4 separate regions of the Homo sapiens genome follow, and all the other regions are linked to region 1. The links are contacts of gene promoters, found by promoter capture Hi-C in blood cells and fetal thymus (Javierre and others, 2016). All regions are on one chromosome and are shown on one strand. The core of a region is centred on a gene start or on the middle of the fragment in contact, and the rest is flanking DNA. Distances in the headings are between cores, read along the strand shown.

Region 1 (5,314 bases), core at 2,001-4,500:
TCTTGCTCAGTGCCCCATCCCTAATACCTGGAACTGTGTCTGACCCAGAATGAGTGCTCACAAAGTATTTGCTGAATGACCTAATAAAAGCTCGATGAAATGGAAAGACTTGCCCAAAGTCTCAGAAATAGCTATGGCTGCACCAAAGCTAAAAAGAGGGTCTTCTGCCTTCTACCGGGTGACCTTTGTATCCCTCTACACTGTGTCCTCCTCTTCCCCTCCTCACACTCACTCCCCTGCCTCCCTCTGGAACCATCAGCCTCTGTCCACTTGTGGACTCTGGTCCCACACAAACCCCGCCTCCCAGTCAGTAGAAAGAGTGTCAAAAGCAACACGTTTACCTTACGTCTTATCCCTCACCTGTAATACCACCTCCTTAATATCACCCTACTGAGAACTAGGCAGGCCAGAAATTCTGCAGACTGAGGCCCACGAAAGATAATCTAGAGAATTAACAGGAAACAAACAAACAAAAAATGTGGATCTGAATCTTCAGAGTCAGGCCCAGAGCTCCTTCTGCCATGGCCCCTCCATCAACCCCGCCCAAAGCACGTGTCGGCTCTCCTGGTTCCCAGATGCTCTGGCTCTGGCTGCGAGGCCCAGCTTTCCTGCCTCCCTTGCCAAGGAGGGACAAGTGAGGGGAAGCTGCCAGTCCCAAACATGGCTGCATCCCAGCCCCACCAAACACAGTCTGGACTTGGAGCTGGTTACTTCCCCTCTCTGGCCCTGGTTTCCTAGTCCTTGTTCGTGCCTGGCACATATCAGCAAATGCCAGTTCTTGGCACTGTTGAGTTTGCCTCCAGGATAACCCAGTTTCCCAGACCACCTCTTCCTACCTGGCTGCCCAAAGGCCTGGGGCACACCCACTGCCACCCAGGTCAGAGCCCTGGGAATCTATATTCTTCTCCCCACTGCGTTTAATATATTCATTCATTCAGAAATATTAAATACGATGTTCAGGCCGGTGCTCAGTGTCTGTCCCCTAGGAACTTGGTCTCACAGTCCTTTCAGGGGCCTAGTTCCTAGGCAGCTCTGTTACTCCTGCCCCTCCCAGGCACAAAGCAGGTGCTCCCTAAGCAGGGATTTCTCCTTCGATTCTAACCCCCAGGGAAGACCCCAATCCACCACCCTAATCTCACTTCTAATTTAAAATCCATTCTCAAGAAGGCTTCACCCTGAAATTATTAAAGAGCCTTCTGCCTGGTGCCCCATAGGGATCTCCAAATTACTCACTCACTTTTCAGTTCCACCCACAGCACCCATGGTCCCAGGAAATAAGCCAAGTGAGTGGGGGACTGTCTGCAGCCCCCAGTCTTCAGCTCTTACTAGGAAGATGACAGGAAGAGGGGGAGTTTAAGCAACTGGCACATTACAAAGAAGTCAGTTCGAAGTCAGGGGACCTTCCCATGTCCGATGTAGATGACCGATGTCGCTGTATAGGGCCCAGCCCTGCATAGGCCTTGGGCACCGCGGCCCAGGTCATCCTGCTTTGAGGAAGCCCATTGTGTGTGTTTTAGATTACCTCTGCCTGTCTGATGAAGTGAGTAAAAGGGCTCCGTTTCAGGGCCTAGGATTCCTGAGTGAGCTAATACAGGATGCCTTTGGCTGAAAAAAAAAACTTCAGTCGGCTCTATAAACTACCCCCCTTTTAAGTTTAAAAAAGGGAATGAATGTTACCATTTTTGGACATGAGCGTTCTCCCTCAAGCCCAGCCCTAACCGCACTATCCAAAGGGACGCGCCATCCTGTCCCCCCCCCACCCAAAACCCCATTCCCAGATCAGCCTGGGGGTGGGGAGGGTATGAAACGGGGAGGGACCGGATGGAAGTGGGCAGCCGGGAGGAGGGGGAGGGAAAGGGGTATTCAGGGTACGTGGCCGCCTGGGGGCACAGGCTCACCGCGCAGGCAGGAAGCAGCGGTAGGGTTGAGGCGCCCTCCCCCCACCACCACGAGTGGTTTCTGACCTCTTCCTGCCACTGGCCACTGTGCCCGGGTCCCATCGCCAGCTCCGAGCCCAGCTCCCGTGGCGGGGCGCGCACCCGGCACACCGCGCCTGCCTGGGATGCAGCTCCGTGGCTAAGTAGGGATCCCCAGTGACTGGCCCCAAATATCCCCTAAGACTGACCCTCGTTCTGCAGCCCCTCAACTCGAACCGAGCTGCCCACCTTTCCCGGGGGTCGGAGGGGCAGGACGTAGCGCAAGCCCATGTCGGGGTTACAGCTTCCAACCCACTGAGTTAAGCAATAAAACGGTCTGCTGTCCTGACCCCGCCCCCACAGGGCCCGCGGGGGAGCCCGCGTACGCCCCCCAGTTTTCTCGTCCCCAGCCGCACTCCAGCTGGTCCTTCTCCAGGCAGATCCGGAGGCGGCCGCCGATCTCTCCGGCGCTCTCCCCTCCGCCTAAGGGGCAGCAGGGTCCCGGGAGGCCCGCCGCTCAGGTTGAACCCAGGGCGGCCCAGGAAGCGGCGCTGCCACCGCACGCCATATGGAGAGGTGGCCAGGGGCGGAAGAAAAGGGAAAATCGATCCGGAGCAAGCAGCCCCGAGCCGGGGTCTCAGCCCCAGCCTGAAGACCACCGCCCCCGAGCACAGCCCACGCGGGGATGGTTGCAACAGCCGCAGGGTGGCCTGGACCACGGACCCCCAAGGAGACCTGCCCGCCAGCGGCGCCACCTCCCCGCGCTCCGGCCCGGCGTTCCCGGGCTCCGGGGCAGGGGCGCTCCCGCTTCCGCCAGGCGCCTGTAACCCAACACCCCACCTCGCAACGGCCGCACCGCCCCCGCCCCCTCCCGTGCGCGCCCGGAACCGGTTCAGAGCCCGGAGCCGAGAGCCCGGCAGGCAGAGCGGGTCGGGGCTGGGGGCTGGGGGCTGGGGGCTGCAGCGGGCGGGGGCGGCTGCTAACCTTTCTCTGCTGCTTCTCCCAGGCCGGGTCCAGGAGCAGGTCCCGGTCCCAGTCCTCTTCTGGCTGCATGTAATCGTTGGTTTGCTGAGAATCATAATGGTCCATGATGGTGCGCGCGTGCTAGGGTCTGGATTTCTTCCTCCACCTTCTCTCTGAGCAACGGCTGCTGCCCTGGCGTGGGGAGGGAGTAGGGCTGGGCTGGGCTGGGCTGGCGGGGCCGGGCTCGCTCCCCTGCGCCCGGTTCCGCCGCGGCGCTGCTGGCGAAGGCTGCTACTGGCGGCGACAGCGGCGGCTGGGCTCGCGGACTGCCTGCCTCTGGGCGGGCGCTTGGACCTAATCTCCACGCACACTGAACTAGGCGGACACACTAGCGCTGCGGGAGCCGAGGCGGGCGGGGGCGGGGGGAAGGGGCAGAGCCCTCCCGAGGCTCTCCATTGGCCAGGCCGAGTTGCCCAAACTTCCCCCCATCGCCTCTCATTGGGAATTCCTGGCATCCGTCAGCCGGGCTGCGGCGCATATAGGTGGACTGGGCGGCCCCCTCCCGGCGCGCACACCCCCGCCCACTCCCGCGGTGCCCGTTCCCCCGCGGCTCATGTGACGCCAGCTTAAGCTGAACGGGACCGAAGCCGGGAGACGCCTCCCCGAGCTCGGGGACTGAGTGGCAGCGCGCTTGGGAACCCCAGGAGCCGCCGGGATTGGACCCGTTCCCCGCCACCGTTATTGCGCTCCCACGCGCGCTCCAAACCCCGGGGTGGGAGGGGGCTGGAGAAAGGACGCGAGGAAACCCGAAGAACATTCATTTTCTCTTTCCCAGGGAACCTGGGTCTGGGCAGGTCGGCACCCTAGGAAAGGGGGCGGAGTGGGGCAATGGAAAGGAATTTCTTGGGAATTTCACGACTCCACCGCCGCCCCCCCCGGCCCCGCCCCACCCCACCCCACCCTACAAGGCGCGACCCGGCTGATCCCTGCCCTGCAGGAACCCGGTTTCTCGCCAGCGAACTGCTCTCAGAGGCTACCGAGCGTTCCCGCCTCGCCGCAGGAACTCTTCTAGCTCGCCCTCGGGCTCTGGGGACCGCTCCACAGCGGGGCCTCCCGGAATTCCCTGCCGGTCTCCGCGGGCACACTTGGCTGGCTGCTGCGACCAAAACTACCTTCGCGTGGCAGGGTCCTCCCTCCTCCTCACAGACACCCCGACATCACCCTCAAAACTGGAAGGGACAACCCCGAGTGATCTAGGTAAATCTACTCCGTACCCCCCTCCCACATACACACGCCTGACAGATGGGGAAACTGAGGCTCAAAGAGCCGAGCGCGGAAAGAGCTTCTGGACTTCACAGGCCAATCCGGTAACCTTATGCCTGACAAACAAAACCTTATTGTCATTGGAGGAGGATGGAGGGCGGGAGTGACTAAATAGCTCTAACTTCTGCTTGCCACCTGCCAGGACTCCTTTCCCTGGGCTTAGTAAGAGGAGAGTCTAAACGCGCTAATGCCCGGGAAGGAGCAGGCCTCGCGTTCTGGCAGGCTCCTCTATGGGATCCCGGTTCCGAAGAACAGTAGCAAATAAACCTCTCCTAGGTTATGCACTGTCTTGTGAACAACAGATGTGCCAGTCTTCCACCCCAGCACCCAGCACATAGTAGAGCTTAATTTATGGATTTGAGGCTGGCCACGGTGGCGGTGGCTCACACCTGTAATCCCAGCACTTTGAGAGGCTGAGGCGGGCAGATCGCTTGAGCCCAGGAGTTGGAGACCAGCCTGGCCAACGTGGCAAAACCCCGTCCTTACTAAAAATACAAAAATCAGCCGGGCATGGTGGTACACGCCTGTAGTCCCAGCTACTTGGGAAGCTGAGGCGGGAGACTCCCTTGAGCCTGGGAGGTCGAGGTTGCAGTGAGGTGCATTTTCACCATTGCACTCCGGCCTGGGTGACAAAACAAGACTGTCTCAAAATATATACATACATATATGCATTTGGCCCTTTATATCCACAGGCTTCAGAACCCGCAGATACCCAGGCTGACTGTGAGGGACTTGAGCATCCTCAGATTTTGGTATCCATGGGGATGCTGAAACCAATACCCTGCCAATACTAAGGGAGGACTGTATTTGTAGGATGAATGGCTGCATCAACTGCAAAAATTTAAATTTAAATTTAAATTTAAAATGCAAATATGTCAATTCAGAAGTGAGTGAAGGAGTTAGAAGAAGAAGTTCACTGACAGGAAGGGCCCTGAATTATGGGCTGGATTTTGTCCTCTACCTTCTCTCCAGGCGATGGTGGATACCTGAAAGCCACCCATGGAAAAGGTGAAGAAAGTGCCCCCTGGTTCTCAGAAGAGCCACTGCTGCTGTTGTGAGCAGATATCGGATGGTGTCTCTGGCTGCATCATTCGTCAACCACACATATTCAT
Region 2 (5,314 bases), core at 1,515-4,014, 1.1 Mb before region 1:
GCTGGAGGTCTACTTACTCTCAGGCTCTTCACTCCCTCCCCAGCCTGAGAGCAGCAGGAGCAAGGACCTGACAGAGGCAGTTGCAGTGGGCCTGTCAGTTACCTCCGGGAGCTCTGACCCAGTGAAATACAGAGCCAGAGCCGTGACCGACTGACCAGAGTGCTCAGTTGGTGGTGGAGTGGGCGTGCTGGGGGCCCAGGCCAGTGGCCTTGCCTGGCAAGGAACAGCAGAGGCAGGGCCTGCAGTCTGACTGCTCCTAAACTCCATGGATATGGCTTCTATCCTAGAGCTACGCGAAAAAACCTGGCCTCCCTTGGTGGGACTATAACAGCTGGCACCAGGGAACTCGGGGATCCAAGGTTGGTGGGGATCCCCGACTCCATGTGGGGTTGAGCTTCCAAGAAGTCTTCCTTACATGGCTTATATGGCTGGGAAGTTGGTCCTGGCTGTTGGCAGTTCTTTGCGATGTGAACCTTTCCATAGGACTGCTTGAGTGTCTTCATGACACAACAGCTGACTTTCTGCAGAGTATGTGATCCAAGAGTACAGGGTAGAAATGACAATTTCTTTTTAAGACAAAGCCTTGGAAGTTACATACCATCATTTCTGCAGTATTCTATTAGTCACAGACAAACCTGATACAATGTGGGAGGAGACTACAGAAAGGCATGGATAACAAAGGTGAGCATCATTGAGTCTTAGAGGCCGCCTACCACTGATATATGCATGTGTGTAAACATATGTACGCATGCATGTGTGTATGTGTATAATTAAAAAAAAAACTTTATGACCATTCTGTTCTCAGAAATGTTGTAGTAGGCAGAATTTCTTAAATGGCCTCTCAAAGATGTTCTGCCCTAATCCCTGGAACCTTTGAATATGATGAGATGTCACTCCCATGATTATTATATGTTATATGGTATAGTTGACTTTAAGATGGGGAGATTATTTGGATCTAATCATATGAGCCCTTAGAAGTAGTGAGCTTTCTCTGGCTGTTAAAAAGGGGAAGGAAGAAAAGCTTAAAACCCAAGAAGGACTCAGGATGCCATTGCTGCCTTGAAGGTGGAGGGGCCATGATTAAAGGAATGTAGGCAGCCTCTAGAAGCAGTGAGTGGCCCTGAGATAAGAGCAAGAAAGGAACCTCAGACCTAGAGCTGCAGAGAAATAGATTTTTGCCAACAGCTTGAATGAACTTGGAAGTTGATTCTTACTCCCAACCTCCAGATAAGAGTCCAGCTCAGCTGAGATCTTGATTTCAACCTTGTAAGACCTTAAGCAGAGAACCTAGCCAACCCTATCTGGACTTCTGACCTGATTGTCTCTGATTTATCCTCTGCTGCTTCTGCTTTAGGAATGAATAGCACTTCTCTACTTCCACTTTTCATCTTGGTGTTGTAACTGAATATATAAGTATACCCAGATTCAGTGACATTCACATAAGTCAAAACTGACTTGCAGTGACATAATAAATGGATGCTGTTCAAGCTGCCAAGTTTGTGGTAATTTGTTATGAAGCAGTAGAGAACTAATAAAATACAGGTGTCAGTGAAGGTGCCTAATTAACTGCATTGCACAGTCTTTGTTTCTGGTTAAAAGGTCAAGCCTAGTGTCCTAGATAGATGTCAGATAGATCTGGTGGGTGGGTGGGGTAAGGCAACTGATTGAATGAACTTAGAGTGGATCTGGAGATTGAGAGAGTAAGAATCAATCTGGAAATATTTTGCTGTCATTTTTATAGTTTCTCTTTCCTGACTTTAACTTAAAAATTTCCTAGGTTATTTATCATCAGTTTTGACTTACGTGAATGTCACTGAATCTGTGTATGCTTACATATTCAGTTACAACACCAACATGAAAAGTGGAAGTAGAGAAGTGCTATTCATTCTTAAAGCAGAAGCAGCAGAGGAGAAATCAGAGACACCAACTCTGCGGACCTGCTGAAGGAAGTGAACTACAGGGCATTGTTCCATTCCCTGAGAACAGCAAACACCTTAAAGTTTGTATTATGTGGAGATCAAATCAGTTCGGTAGCCTTCTCATATGAGATAATATAGATCAGTGTTCCTCATTCATTTTTTCATTATTGTCTCCTAAGAAGCCTTTTTAACAATTTTTTCTTAACCACACCCTCCAATGAAGTTTTTCTACCACACATATACTGTATATCTGTTTTTGTACTGTATAAATATCTGTGCTTTATACATAAAAGAGTAAAATCTTCCCCTTCCTCCAAAACAACTTTTACCCTTGGGGTTAATATTACCCATGCTGAGAATGCATAAGATAGATGCTATTGTGAATAGGTAAAATTAAAGTTATATTTAAAGATACAGGTGAGGTGCAGTGGCTCACGCCTGTAATCCCAGCACTTTGGGAGGCCGAGATGGGCAGATCACTTGAGGCCAGGAGTTTGAGACCAGCCTGCCCAACATGGTAAAACCCCATCTTTACCAAAAATACAAAAATTAGCTGGGTGTGGTGGCATGCGCCTGTTGTGCCAGCTACTTGGGAGGCTGAGGCATGAGAATCATTTGAATCCAGGAGGCAGAAGTTGCAGTGAGCTGAGATTGCACTACTGCACTCCAGCCTGGGCAACAGAGTAAGGCTCCGTCTCAAAAAAAAAAAAAAGTATTCAGAGATATCATCAAAAAAGGTATTTTCAGCTAGGTGTGGTGGCTCATGCCTGTAATCCCAGCACTTTGGGAGGCTGAAGCAGAAGGATCGCTTGAGGCCAGGAGTTTGAGACCAGCCTGAGTAACATAGCAAGACCCTAGCTCTACAAAAAGTAAAAAAAAAAAAAATTAGGTGTGGTGGTGCATGCCTATAGTCCCAGCTACTTAGGAGACTGAGGCAGGAGGATCACTTGAGCCAGGAGTTCAAACCTGCAGTGGGCTATGCTTGTGCCACTGCACTTCAGCCTGGGGTGAGATCCTGTATCTTAAAAAACTATTATTTTCATACTGTAATATAATCTAGAGTACAGGACCAGAGAACTCAGTTCAACACAGAGAGATGTAATATCTGCATAGTTATTATGCCTGGCAAAGTTTTTGTATTTTTAGTAGAGATGGGGTTTCACCATGTTAGCCAGGATGGTCTCGATCTCCTGACCTCATGATCCACCTGCCTTGGCCTCCCAAAGTGCTGGGATTACAGGCATGAACCACCGCGCCTGGCCAGCATCTTAGTTTTTTCTTGGAACAATTACTATTATAGTTCTTTTTTTTTTGAGACAGAGTCTTGCTCTGTTGCACAGGCTGGAGTGCAGTGGTGCGATCTCGGCTCAATGTAAGCTCCGCCTCCCGGGTTCATGCCATTCTCCTGCCTCAGCCTCCCCAGCAGCTGGGATTACAGGTGCCCGCCACCACGCTTGGCTAATTTTTTTTTTTTTGTATTTTTAGTAGAGACGGGGTTTCACTGTGTTAGTAGCCAGGATGGTCTGGATCTCCTGACCTCGTGATTCGCCCACCTTGGCCTCCCAAAGTGCTGGGATTATAGGCTTGAGCCACCGCACCCGGCCTATTATAGTTCTTTTTATAATTGGCAGGATTAGCTGTGGCCTACATGATCACAGGAAATAATAAGGCAGGGGTTGTAAACTCAAATGCCTATAAGCACGAGCCATGTAACAGAAGTACATGAAACAGTTAAGTGTAAGACATAGATATTTATTAGTTGATTTTAGCTGCTGACAACAGCAGCAAACATTTATTTTTTTGCTCATGGGTCTCCATGTCTGCAAAGGTGGATCCTGTCTTCTTCAGGCTGCAGTGAGGTTCAGATGTGCCCCACAAGTTGTAACAGCAGCAGGAAAACCAGAGAGAGATTTCAAATGGATGTTCCTTGAGTACAGTCTGCTGACATTCATTTATCCTGCCCTATGTTTTGAAAGGCAGATAACTAGGCCTCTGTTCTAATACAGACATTTAGCATATGCGGTTGATTGGACCATTGTTCCCAATTCTTCACTTACTCTCTAATTTAGAAATAAACATTCTGCTCTGTAATGGTTTACTAGAGTCTTTTATGTGGCACATGTTCAATAACTGCTGTTAAATGAATGATTATATCCCTTAATACTGTTTGATTTTTGTTAATGGTGGAACTTGGGGTACTTGTCATTTCCATTCCCTCCTGCTTTTTCTGCTCTTTTCCCATCCCTACTCTTCCTCTCTCCCTTCCCATTTACTTCCAAAACGGCAGCTGTCAATATGAAAAAGGAGGGAGTGGTAGAGAGAATCCAAGACATAAACTCTTCCACATGTTGGTGTAAAGTAATTTAAGATCAAGGTTTCTTTCACAAGGCAAAATGCAATGCAACCTGGCCTTTCTGAGATTCTTTTTTTTTTTCCTTTTTTATGGTTTTGGCTTTAGGATTTAGAATGTTAGTTATTTTAAAAATGAATTTTGTAGGTCTGAAGACCTACTCATATTTCTACATAATTGTTGAGCAAACGGAGACAAGTAGTTAGATGCTGGAGGTCATTAAAAAATATTTTTTAATGAAGCTTTTTTAAAACATGCTCACTGGTTTCAGATCAGAGCCAGGCATCCTTAAATTGTCTTCTGCCAGGTATTGGCTTGGCAGATTACCCTGTCCAGTTGCCCTCATCTTGAATGTGAGGAGAGTTAACTTGATAAGATTTTAGGTCCTAACTGGACCAGATTTTACATTCCTCTCAGCCATGAAAAGTTTAAGATGAGCAGGCTTCATTTTTACTTTAGTACAATTAGACCTTTTCTTGGGAACAATTCTCTTTCCTCTTCAAACCAATTATTAACATTTTCTTCCTTGCTGATATTTGAGTGATATTCACTACTGACTTTTTTTTTTTTTAGTTCTTTTACATTTCTCAAGCAGGTTGTTGAAACTTTGGCTCTAACTATATGAAGTGAATTGTTTTTTTACTGGTGTTTTCGCTGTGTAAATATTGTATTCAGTCTGAGTTTACAAGAAGCAAATAACTTAGCCTATTCTGGTTTGGCATGTTTTCTCTTTCTAACCACCATTGGGGCTGAAGCTGGGAACTGAACACAACTTGAAATTTTGTGGTTTGGGTGCTAGAATTCAGAGCTAGACTATCTGAAGCTAAAAATTATTAATGTTGAAATGTTTTCACCCACTAAATAAACCTGAAAAAAAATGAAATGTAACTCCAGGCAGCCCATAAAATCGCATATGGTATAATTTTTTTGAGTCTAGGAAGAGATGAAAAAAATTTGTGAGCAGGATCTGAGATTGTTAAAAAAAATTAGAAATTGTTTATTATGGTTTAAAGTAAATGCTACTATCCAAACTCTAATCCAAACT
Region 3 (5,314 bases), core at 2,034-4,533, 1.1 Mb before region 1:
TGGAAAAAATGATTGACTCCGAGAAAAGATCCAAGTAGTGTTTTCATTCATTCATTCAGTAATGCCTGTTTGACATTTGGGCTTTCTGTCTATGAATCTATCTTTATCCCATTTCCCATTGGGCTTCTAGTCTTTTTATTCTTGATTTGCAGAAGCTTTTTGTGTGTCTTCTAGATATTGTTTGTCAGTTTTACACATTGAAAATATCTCCTCCTGCTCTGTTATCTGTCATCTTTGTAGTGTCCTTTATTGAAGAGAAATTTATAATTTAAAAAAATTTATTAGAGACGAGGTTTCACTCAGGCTAGAGTGCAGTGGCACAATCATAGCTCACTGCTGTCTCGACTTACTGGGTACAAGGGATCCCCTTGCTTTAGCCTCCCAAATAGCTGGGACTGTAGACGTGTGCTACCACGCCTGGCTAATTAAAAAAATTTTTTTGTAGAGCTGGGGTCTCACCATCTTGCCCAAACTGGTCTCAAACTCCTGGGCTCAAGCAGCCCTCCTGCTTCCGCCTCCCAAACTGCTTGAATTCCAAGCATAAGCCGCCATGCCTGGCCAGAAATTTGTAAATTTGAAGTTGTTGCCTAATGGTATTGGTTTTCAGATCTTAATTAACAAGTTTTCCCCCACTATTAGTTATCAAGATATTGTCTTACAGTTTTTTCCTAATATAGTTATAGTTTTATCTTTTATGTCAATATCTTTAATCCATCAGAAATCCATTAAGGATATATTTTAAATTTTTGTATAAACTGCCACATTCTCCTCTAGAAATATTTTACATAATTGTATCTCAACCAATAGTACTTTGAGAGCCTTCATCACTGTTTTTAGTTTCTTTAATTTTGTCATACTTGCGGGAAAAAAGTGATAGCTCATTGTTTTAACTATTGTGAACCAACATCTTTTCATATATTCATTGTCCATTTATATTTCTTTGGCAAATTACCTAGAAATACACTTTGTCCATTTTTTCTTATTGATATATATAAATACTTTGTGTATTATGGATATTTATGTTTATATGATTTTTTTCCTGGGCTATAATTCTATAATTTATCTTTCAACTTTGGTTATGCTATCTTTTGTTATCTATGATTTCTTTGGTGGTTGATCTTTCAGATTTTGCTTTATGGCTGTAGTTTTTAAAGTTTTAATTTTCAGGGCCCTTAAACTCTAGGTGGATTATATCAATTGATATTTATCATATTAGGAATTTAAACTGGAAAATTTAAAGAATATTTAACTATTATCTATTATGCAGTAAGTCCATTACATGGTATGTGTTTTTTTGTGTGTTTGTTTTTGTTTTTGAGATGGAGTCTCACTGTCGCCGGGCTTGAGTGCAGTGGTGTGATCTTGGTTCACTATAACCTCCACTTCCTGGGTTCAAGCGATTCTCCTTACTCAGCCTCCCGAATAGTTGCAATTACAGGTGCCCACCAGTGCGCCTGCCACCATGCCTGGCTAATTTTTGAATTTTTAAATTAAAGACGGGGTTTCGCCATGTTGGCCAGGCTGGTCTCGAACTCCTGACCTCAAGTGATCTGTTCATCTCAGCCTCCCAAAGTCCTGGGATTACAGGCGTGAGCCACTGTGCCTGGCCATTACATGTTAGCATATTGTACCAAACAGGGCTCCATTAGGAAAATAGAACCAGTAGAACATATATTAAGAGAGTTATTGCAAAGAATTGGCATATGCAGATGTGGAGTTGTCTGAAATCCATAGGGCAGGCTGTTGGAAAGGGCAGGCTAGAACTCTCAGGCAAGGGCCTAAGCTGTAGTCCATAGGTGGAATTTCATCTTTTTAAAGGAAGTCTCAGCTCTGCTGTTAAGGCTTTTCAAGTGATTGAATTAGCCCACCCAGATTATGTAGGATAATCTCTAGTACTTAAAGTCATCTGTTTATGGACATTAATGACATCTACAAAATCCTTTCATAACAATGCATAGATTAGTGTTTGATTGAATAACAGGAGACTGTGGACTAGCCAAGTTGACACAAAACTGACTGTCATATATTTTTTGTTTGTTTTTTGTTTTTTTTTTAAGAGACAGGGCCTCGCTCTGTCACCCAGGCTGGAGTGCAGTGACATGATCATAGTTCACTGTAACCTCCAGCTCCCGGACTTAAGAGAGCCTCCTGCCTCAGCCTCCTGAGTAGCTGGGACTACAGATGTGAGCCACTGCACCTGGACTTTACATGTATTTTTTATGGAAAATAAATACATTTTTGACTAAAAAAAGTGAAAAAAGAGTGGCGTTGTTTTATGTTTTTGCAAATCTCTTTAGTGTCTGACTTAATAGAAGACAGCCTGATTCTAATATCTGCTTCTGCATTCAGTCTGTTGCACTCTGTTGTTTTGGTTGAGATATGAAGATCTGGCCTTATACTGGTTATAGTTGGAAAGGGAGGAATATTTTAATAGTCTCTTCAGATAATTAAAGATATGCTTCTTTGATACTACACCAGGAATTGAGTAATAGTTGCTTAGAGGTTAGTTGTGATATAGAATCTGAAACCATATTATTGCATTTTTTCTACAGTTACATTAAAATCTATTCATCTGTCTTAGGCTCTTAATGGATATTTACCTATGCATGATTTTGTAATATTATGCATTTATCACTCAGAAAATATTGGTTCACTGTCTTATGGAGTTCTAAATGTTGACACATTTTATTACTCAATATAAAAAAATTTCATTAGTATCTCCACTGATCTGAACAAAAAGTATTTAAGTATTGGGATGCAGTCAAACTCATGGTAGCAGATGTAAGTTTTTTAGGAATCTGATTTTTCATTAAAAGCTTGAATTTTATCATTGGCAATAAATATTGCCACTTGTTTTTCTTGAAGTGTCGGGCTTACTTTGCTCATTTTGAGAAAACGTCTACCAAATACTTAAGTCAGAAAAACCATAACTTATCTATCAATCATTCTTTCAAGTAAAAATGGTCTCCCATGGAAAAAGTGACTTCTTAGTCTGAGAACCCAATTGTACAGATGTTTTTCCTTGAGACAATGGTTGTACTTCAGAATGTAGTAGAAGTGCTTCTATTTTGTCAAACAGAATATTAAAAATATGTCTGTGTTCTAATAAAACTCTATTGACAAAAACAGGCAATGGGCCATAGTGCACAGTTTGACAACCCCTGCTTTATTTAACTCCTTGAGCAAATGTAGAAGATTAATAATAGCCGTTTTGAGGTTTTTATCCATGAATGCCATCATATATATAATTTTTTAAATCTGTTTTTATTGACTGATTTTTCTCCTGGTAATGGATCTTTTCCTCTTCCTTTACTTGTCTGGTAATTTTTCAATTCGATGTTAAACATTGTAAATTTTACGTTGTTGGTGGGTGCTGGATTTTAACATATGTTTTTCAAGAGTGTTAGGTTTTGTTTTAAGGTACATTTTAGTATTAGTTTGATCCTTTTGCAGGTTGCTTTTCTATGTTGTTATGGAAAAATCCCAGGTACAGTCATGCTTCGCTTAACAATTGGGATATGTTCTGAGAAATGCATTGTTAGGCAATTTCATTGTTGTATGAACACCCTACAGTGTACTTACATGCACCTAGATGGTATAGCCTACTGCGCACCTAGACTATATGGTATAGCCTATTGCTTCTAGGCTATGAACCTGTACAGCATGTTACTGTATTGAATAGGCAATTACAACACAATGGTAAGTATTTGTGTATCTAAACAAAGGAAAGGTATTGTAAAAATATACTATATAAGCTTATGGGACCACTGTTGTATAAGTGATGCATCATTGACTGAAATGTCGTTATGCAGCACATGACTGTGGTTTTTTATTCTGAAACTTATTTAGCTTCACTACTAAGGTAAAATCCTTCTGAAAATTCTGCCCAATGCCCAGTGTATAATAAGGTCTCTTTATTCTTCACCTTGTGTAAACCCGAACTGTTCTCACCCTGTGTGGGCACTAGGAAGTGTTCAGTCTGATACTTTCTGGTGGTTCTTTCCTCAACCTCAAGTAGTTTCCCTTCACACATGTGCAGATTAGTTCTCAAGTGGCCCTCTCTGCAGATCTTTGCAGTGCTCACTCTGCACACCTGCTTCCTCTCTGGTACTCTGCCCCATAAGTTCTAGCCACCTTAGCTTTCCCAAACTCCGATCCCCATCTCCTCAACTCAGGTTGTCTACCAGGCTCTGTTTACTTTCCCTTTCTTGTGTTGCAGCCTGGAAACTGCCTCTGGAGCAAACTGAGGTGATTGTAAGCTCATTGTGTTTGTTTCCTTTCTCTCAAGGATTACAGTCTCAAGCTTTCTATTGTTCAGTACCTGAAAACTCTTATTTCATGTATTCTGTCTGATTTTCTACTTATTATTTTAGTGCAATTCATGTACCAGTTAATCCTTTGTGGGCTAAAGTGGAAATCCCTTCTTTCATTCTCTCTTGAGTTCACTCTATCCAGGCTTAAGTTTCCAGCTCTATAATGCAACTGATTTAAAAAATTTTATCCAACCCAATAGCAGCATTCGAAAGAGTTGATCACTCACTTTTTCTTGAAAAGCTCTCTTCCCTTGACTTTTTATTTTTTTAGACAGGTTCTCACCTAACTCTGTCACCCAGGCTGGAGTACAGTGGTGCTATCATGGTTCACTGCAGCTTTGACCCCTCAGACTCAAGCAATCCTCTCACCTCAGCCTCTCGAGTAGCTGGGACCACAGGCATATGCCACCATGCCCAGCTAATTTTTTAATTTTTAGTACAGATAAGGTTTTGGTATGTTGCCCTGGTTGGTCTTAAACTTCTGGGCTCAAGAGATCCTCCTGCCTTGGCCTCCTAAAGTGTTGGGATTATAGGCATGAGCCACCATGCCCAGCCCACTTGGCTTCTTGGAACTATTCTCTCTTCTTTTACACCTACCTTCTTGGTCACCTCCTCCTCTCAGTCCCTTTTGCTGGATCCTCCTCATCATTTTAACTTCTAGGCTTTGGGGAATCCCAGAACTCAGTCCTAGGACCTTTTCTCTTCTATATCTGTACTCAATCCCTAATATCATCTGGTCTTATGATCTTTAAAATCTTTTATAGGCTGTAACTCCTATTGATATCTGAATTCTGAGCTTTCCCATGAACTTCAGATTCATATTCATTTGCGTAATGACATGGAACTTGGATAGGTTTACATACATGGATTTCCTGATATGTCCAAAACTGCATTTTTGTTTCCCCCATGAAGGAAATAAAACATGCAAATAACACCAATAACCAAAACCTTTATGTGAATCTTGTCTTTTCTGCTTCAATAAAGTTGTGATTCCATTCTTC
Region 4 (5,314 bases), core at 1,146-3,645, 1.1 Mb before region 1:
AATATATAATTTAAGTGTTTGAATAGGAATAGAGGAAGTAGCCAAACACTTTTCAATAGTCCAGCTAAAATACACAATAGCACATGTTTAAAGTACATCTTTGGAAGAAAGATTTGAAGATCCTTGATAAGATAATATATCATGTACCACAAAGGCATGCCCTGCTAAGTAAAAGTGGGAAGAAGCAGTACATATTCTATTAGGGGGTCAGAAATCTTTAAATAGAAGTTTCTCTGGCAATCTGGTTCCCAGATAGATAGTTGAAGGCTCAAAGAAATTTCCAAGCTTGCTAGAAATTTCCATCTGCTGGCTTTTGTGTTGAGTTAAATGCCATCATATTTTATTGCCTCATACATTTGCATTAACACTTTCCCTTTAAATTTACTTAAAGTATTTTTTGTTTTGTTTCATTTTTGTTTTTTTTTGAGACTGGTCTCACTTTGTCGCTCAGGTTGGAGTGTAGTGGAGCTCACAGTTTACTTCAGCCTTCTGAGTACCTGGGACTACAGGTGCATGCCACCACACCTGGCTAATTTTTGTATTTTTTGTAGAGACGGGGTTTCGCCATGTTGCCCAGGCTGGTCTCGAACTCCTGGCCTCAAGTGATCCTCCTTGCCTTGGCCTTCCAAAGTGCTGGGATTGCAGACGTGAGCCACAGTGCCTGACAGTAATATTTTTTTTTTTATTAGAAACATAAGAACCCACCTCAAAGCTTGGGCTTGGAAGTCTATGGAGGCTTTATTTATTTTAGCCACAGACATGGATAAGAGGCAATCTAAGTTAAATATGTGCACTTTGGTACCAGGCCAACCTGAGTTCTAACCAAATTTTTCATGTTTTAGATGTGAGACAAGTTAATCTTCTAGGCCTTACTTCCTTCATGTATAAAGTAGTTATTATTACTTAATTCAACAAATATTATTAGTCACTCTTCTATGTGTTGGGGTATTCCAGTGAATAAAATAATGACAGTCTTTCCCTTAGTGCAGTTTCCATTCTAATGGTAGAGGACGGAGGATGGGGGAGGCAATAAAAAGGAATTGTATGTTAAAAATAATAATTGCTGTAAGCAGAGAGGAAGTAGAGCAGGGTAAGGGAGATACTGAATACAGAAGAAAGGAGGTGCAGAATTAGGGTAGTAAGGGTTGGCATCGTTGAGCCAGTGACATCTGAGCAAAGACTTGAATGCAGTTTTAAAAGGCTTGCTCTGGTATTGCTGAGTTGAGAATAGATTGCAGGGCATTAAGAATAAAATAAAGGAGAATCATTAGGAGCTTTTCCTAGTAACCTAGGCAACAGATTTTCTTAGGCTGTTCTTGCGTTGCTATAAAGGAATACGTGAGACTGGGTAATTTATAAAGAAAAGAGGTTTCATTGGCTCATGATTCTGTAGGCTGTACAGGAAGCATGGCACCAGCATCTGCTCAACTTCCGCGGAGGCCTCAGGGGAGCTTTTACTTATGGTGGATGGCGAAGTGGGAGCAGGCCCATCACATGACAAAAGCAAGAGCAAGAGAGAGAGTAGAGGGTGAGGTGCCCAACACTTTTAAACCACCAGATCTCTTGAGAACTCACTAGCGTGAAGACAGCAGCGAGCCATGAGGGATCTGCCCCTGTGACCCAAGCACCTTCCATTAGGCCCCATTTCCCATGTTGGGGATTAACATTCAACATGAGATTTGGGTGGGAGAATATTCAAACCATATCACAGATGATGATAACTTAACGAGTATTATCAGTGAAGATGCTGAGGAATCATTGAATTTTGTATATATTTTTGAGATTGAGACAACAGGATTTCCTGACGATTTGAGTATGTTATATGAAACAAAAAGGAGTCTATGTTTTTGGCTCAGGAACTGAATGGATGGAGCTGTTATCAACTGATAAGAGGAACACTGTGGACAGAGCAGATTTGAGGGGGAAGATCAGGAGTTCAGTACTATATATATATATATTGAGTTTGAGATGTCTGTTTGGCATTCTTGCAGAGATAATGACATCTACCAATGGGTTGGTTGTGATGATTAAATATGGTGAATGTAAATTACTGAGCACAGAATCTGACCATTATCTCTGTGAGATCAGAGAATAAATTGCTACATGAAACAAGAATAAGAGATTGCAAAAGGGAGATACTTAGGGAAAAAGAGCTCACAGAATGTGATAGAAAAAAATTTTTAAATGATGGATGGGAGGATAAGATTGAAGAAATCTCCCAGAATATAAAAGCCAAAGAGATGTAAGAATATTACAGAAATATTAAAAATAATGGAGAATCTACTCAGGAGGCCCATCTCCTTTCTAAAAAGATTTTCAGAGAGAGAGAGAGATCAAAGAAAAGGGAAGGGAAATAATTTTATTTATTTATTTTTTTGAGATGGAGTCTCACTCTGTTGCCCAGGCCAGAGTGCAGTGGCATGATCCTGGCTCACTGCAACCTCCACCTCCAGGGTTCAAGCAATTCTTCTGCCTCAGCCTCCCGAGTAGCTGGGATTGTGGGCATGCACCATCACACCCGGCTAATTTTTGTATTTTTAGTAGAGACAGGGTTTCACCATGTTGGCCAGGCTAGTCTCAAACTCCTGACCTCAGTTGATTCATCTGCCTCGGCCTCCCAAAATGCTGGGATTACAGGCATGAGCCACTGTGCTCAGCTAAGGGAAATAATTATCAGTGAAACAATGCAAGAAAAATTTCCAGAACTGAAGGACATCTGTTTCTAAATTGAAAGTGCTCAGCACCATTAATGAGGGGGAAAAAGACATATTACCAGGACATTTCAGAGTGCCAGAGAGTAAAAACAAGTCACAAGGAAAGGAATAGGGATTAGTGGAGTGTCAGACTTAACTCAAAACTAACACTGGAAGCTAGTAGACAAGGAAGCAATACCTTCAAAGTGCTGAGGGAAAATTATGACAAACATAGATTTCTAATTCCAACCAAATAGTCAATCAATTATGAGGATAGCCTAAAGATATTTTTTTAGCATGCAAAGTGCCAAAAAATTTATCTCCTACACATCTCCCCACAGGAAGCTATTGAAGTATGTGAAAGAAGGCATGAAATCTAGGAAAATGGGGAATGTAACACTGGAGAGAGAGAGGAAGTTTGCAAGATGATGGTGAACAAAAGTCCAGGATGACAGCTGAGTAGCAAGCCTAGAGATGACTAGTACAGATTGGAGCAGGAAGGTGGAAACTCCAGGGAAGATGTCTGTACAAACCAAATTAAACTGATGCATGTGATTATTCTGAAAGAGTTTCATAGTTTGTTCAGACATTAGGGAATAAACTGTCCCTAACTTAAGGGAGCTTACACTGTAATAAGGGGTACATGCAAGTAGGCAGGCAATTATAGTATTCTGTGAAGGTTCGTAAAGTTTAGTACTGTAGGAAACCAGAATATGCCTCCCCAAAATGTGAAGGATTCTCGAGCTGAAGACAGTTAAGATGCAGTAGAGCTCTCTGCCTAAAAGCAGGACACAGATTTACAGAGAAAAATGTCTTGCTGTCCTCCCTCCTCCCTTTCTCCCCTAAAGACAGGATGTAAATTCTTTACTGGAAAAAAACCCTTTATCATCTCAGAGACGGCGCCAGAGGAATCTGCAAGCTGACTTTACTCCATTAGTGCCTTCCATATATTTACCTTTCCACGGTTTCCCACCTCTGGAAGTCTGGGACTGCTTTCCTTTGCCTTGTCACTTCTCTAAAATTTATTGTTCTTTGTTGGATATACTATATAAACCAGACTCATGAACCACTGCCTTGAGTTACTTTTCACTGAGGGCTTTTCCTGTGTGATATGCACCGTACACGTTAATAAACCTATCTGTTTTTCTCTTGTTAATCTGCCTTCTGTTATAGAAGTCTGTGCTAACTACATACTTAAGAAGGTTGAGGAAAAAATACTTTTTCTCCCCTTCAGTTCTCTGCTGCTAGATCACCCATAGTTGGAATGGAGGCTCAGAAACCTAGTATTTAGCTCCTTTGAGCATCTGTAATTGAACTGGCAAAGCAAGAGCTTGGGGCTGACTGTTGGATTAGCTGAAGAATAGTTTCCGTCATATTCTAGAAAAGAAAGCTTTTTTTTTCTTTTTCTTTTTCTCCAGGGAATGAGTGGGGTTATCCATTTATTGTAGTTTAAAGGATTTAAAATCCATCTATATATTGATAAGCATTCATCAGTTTTTATTTTAGTATGTATGGTGCTATCATGTTTATAAGAATATTTTGTTTTTAAAATGACTAGAGCGGTACAAAGGAAAAAACTTTAGTTGTTAATTTTAGATGAAAAGCAACTGAATTTCTTAGGTAATAATTATTTTACCCTCCCAAGATACGTTTTCTGTACTCCATTGACTTATGCCAATAAAGTAATGTTCTTCCAATTTAATAATGGATTTTTTTTCTTGTTGAATTTTTTTCAACTCTAACGTTATTTTGTTGTTGGAGATTGATTAAAAAATACAAATTTTACTGTTTAAAGAATGTTGCCTAATTAGTTATAAATCTATTTCATCTTTGCATTTTTTTCTTTTATATACTCATATAAAATGTAGCAGTTTGTATCACATCAGTATTTCTCTTATATAAATATGGTTTATGGTTATGTCTAATCTCATTTCTCATTTGGCCAGTTAATATATGCACAGATAAATGGCCCATAAAGAAAAACTTCAAGAGGAGAAAAAGGTAATCTAAATGCATATTATTATTTTAAAGTTCTAATACTGTGTACAATTTTATGAAGTTAAGTTTCTGTAATATGTGGTCACCCAGGGGTCTGAGAACATTAGTTAATCCAGTCAACAAACATTGATGGCATATGTGCTGTATGACAGGCTCTGTGCTTGGTCTTAGGAATACAGGACAAGTTAGGGCATCATTCCCACCCTCCGATAATGCTTAGTCCCCAGGAAAAAAAAATTGACATATAAACAAGTAGAGGTGGTAAAACAGAAGATTAAAGGTCCTATAGATGATATTTACCAATGAATAAAGAGAGAAGGCTATCTTAAGAAAAATATGTAGTAAGAAGAAAGAAATGGAGATAGAGAACATTTGAGGAAATGGCAGACATTTATTTGTATTTGGTTGTAGCATAGAGTAATGGGGAAGACCGGGGAAACATTGAGAACCATCTCATAGAGCAGGCATGCTACATGCTGGAGTTTAGTCAGTTTCTCCTGGAACAGTATTTCTCAAATATGTGTGATCATATGAATCACTGAGAAAGTTTGTAAACAAACAAAAACAACCCTAACAGATTCCTGAATTTCACTCCAGACCTGGAAAATCAGAGTCCTTAGAGG

The links. The method cuts DNA at HindIII sites, captures the fragments that hold promoters and counts their contacts. A CHiCAGO score of 5 or more calls a contact.
Region 2: a contact is called between a fragment that was not itself captured here and the fragment with the promoter of ACTN1 in region 1, in 1 of 17 cell types (total B cells). The highest score is 5.6, in total B cells.
Region 3: a fragment that was not itself captured here is called in contact with the fragment with the promoter of ACTN1 in region 1 in 2 of 17 cell types (total B cells and naive B cells); the score reaches 5.7 in total B cells.
Region 4: a contact is called between a fragment that was not itself captured here and the fragment with the promoter of ACTN1 in region 1, in 2 of 17 cell types (total B cells and naive B cells). The highest score is 8.8, in total B cells.

What each region holds. Positions count from the first base shown.
Region 1 is chr14:68,976,052-68,981,365 of GRCh38, forward strand. ACTN1 (actinin alpha 1) reads right to left here and starts at 3,251. Exons shown (of 22, transcript NM_001130004.2): 1 at 2,901-3,251. The coding sequence starts at 3,005. ACTN1-DT (ACTN1 divergent transcript) reads left to right here and starts at 3,631. Exons shown (of 4, transcript NR_073422.1): 1 at 3,631-3,733; 2 at 3,877-4,136. RefSeq lists enhancers at 2,119-3,118, 3,119-4,117 and a silencer at 3,259-3,308. The HindIII fragment of the contact is 14,649 bases long and covers 1-5,314 here.
Region 2 is chr14:67,852,017-67,857,330 of GRCh38, forward strand. The region is part of intron 4 of RAD51B (RAD51 paralog B); the gene reads left to right. Among named protein-coding and RNA genes, the nearest start is that of RAD51B, 35 kb to the left of the region's middle. RefSeq lists an enhancer at 1,159-1,228. The HindIII fragment of the contact is 3,490 bases long and covers 1,020-4,509 here.
Region 3 is chr14:67,877,405-67,882,718 of GRCh38, forward strand. All of the region lies in intron 5 of RAD51B (RAD51 paralog B), which reads left to right. Among named protein-coding and RNA genes, the nearest start is that of RAD51B, 60 kb to the left of the region's middle. The HindIII fragment of the contact is 939 bases long and covers 2,815-3,753 here.
Region 4 is chr14:67,915,876-67,921,189 of GRCh38, forward strand. All of the region lies in intron 7 of RAD51B (RAD51 paralog B), which reads left to right. Among named protein-coding and RNA genes, the nearest start is that of RAD51B, 99 kb to the left of the region's middle. RefSeq lists a silencer at 1-24. The HindIII fragment of the contact is 3,371 bases long and covers 711-4,081 here.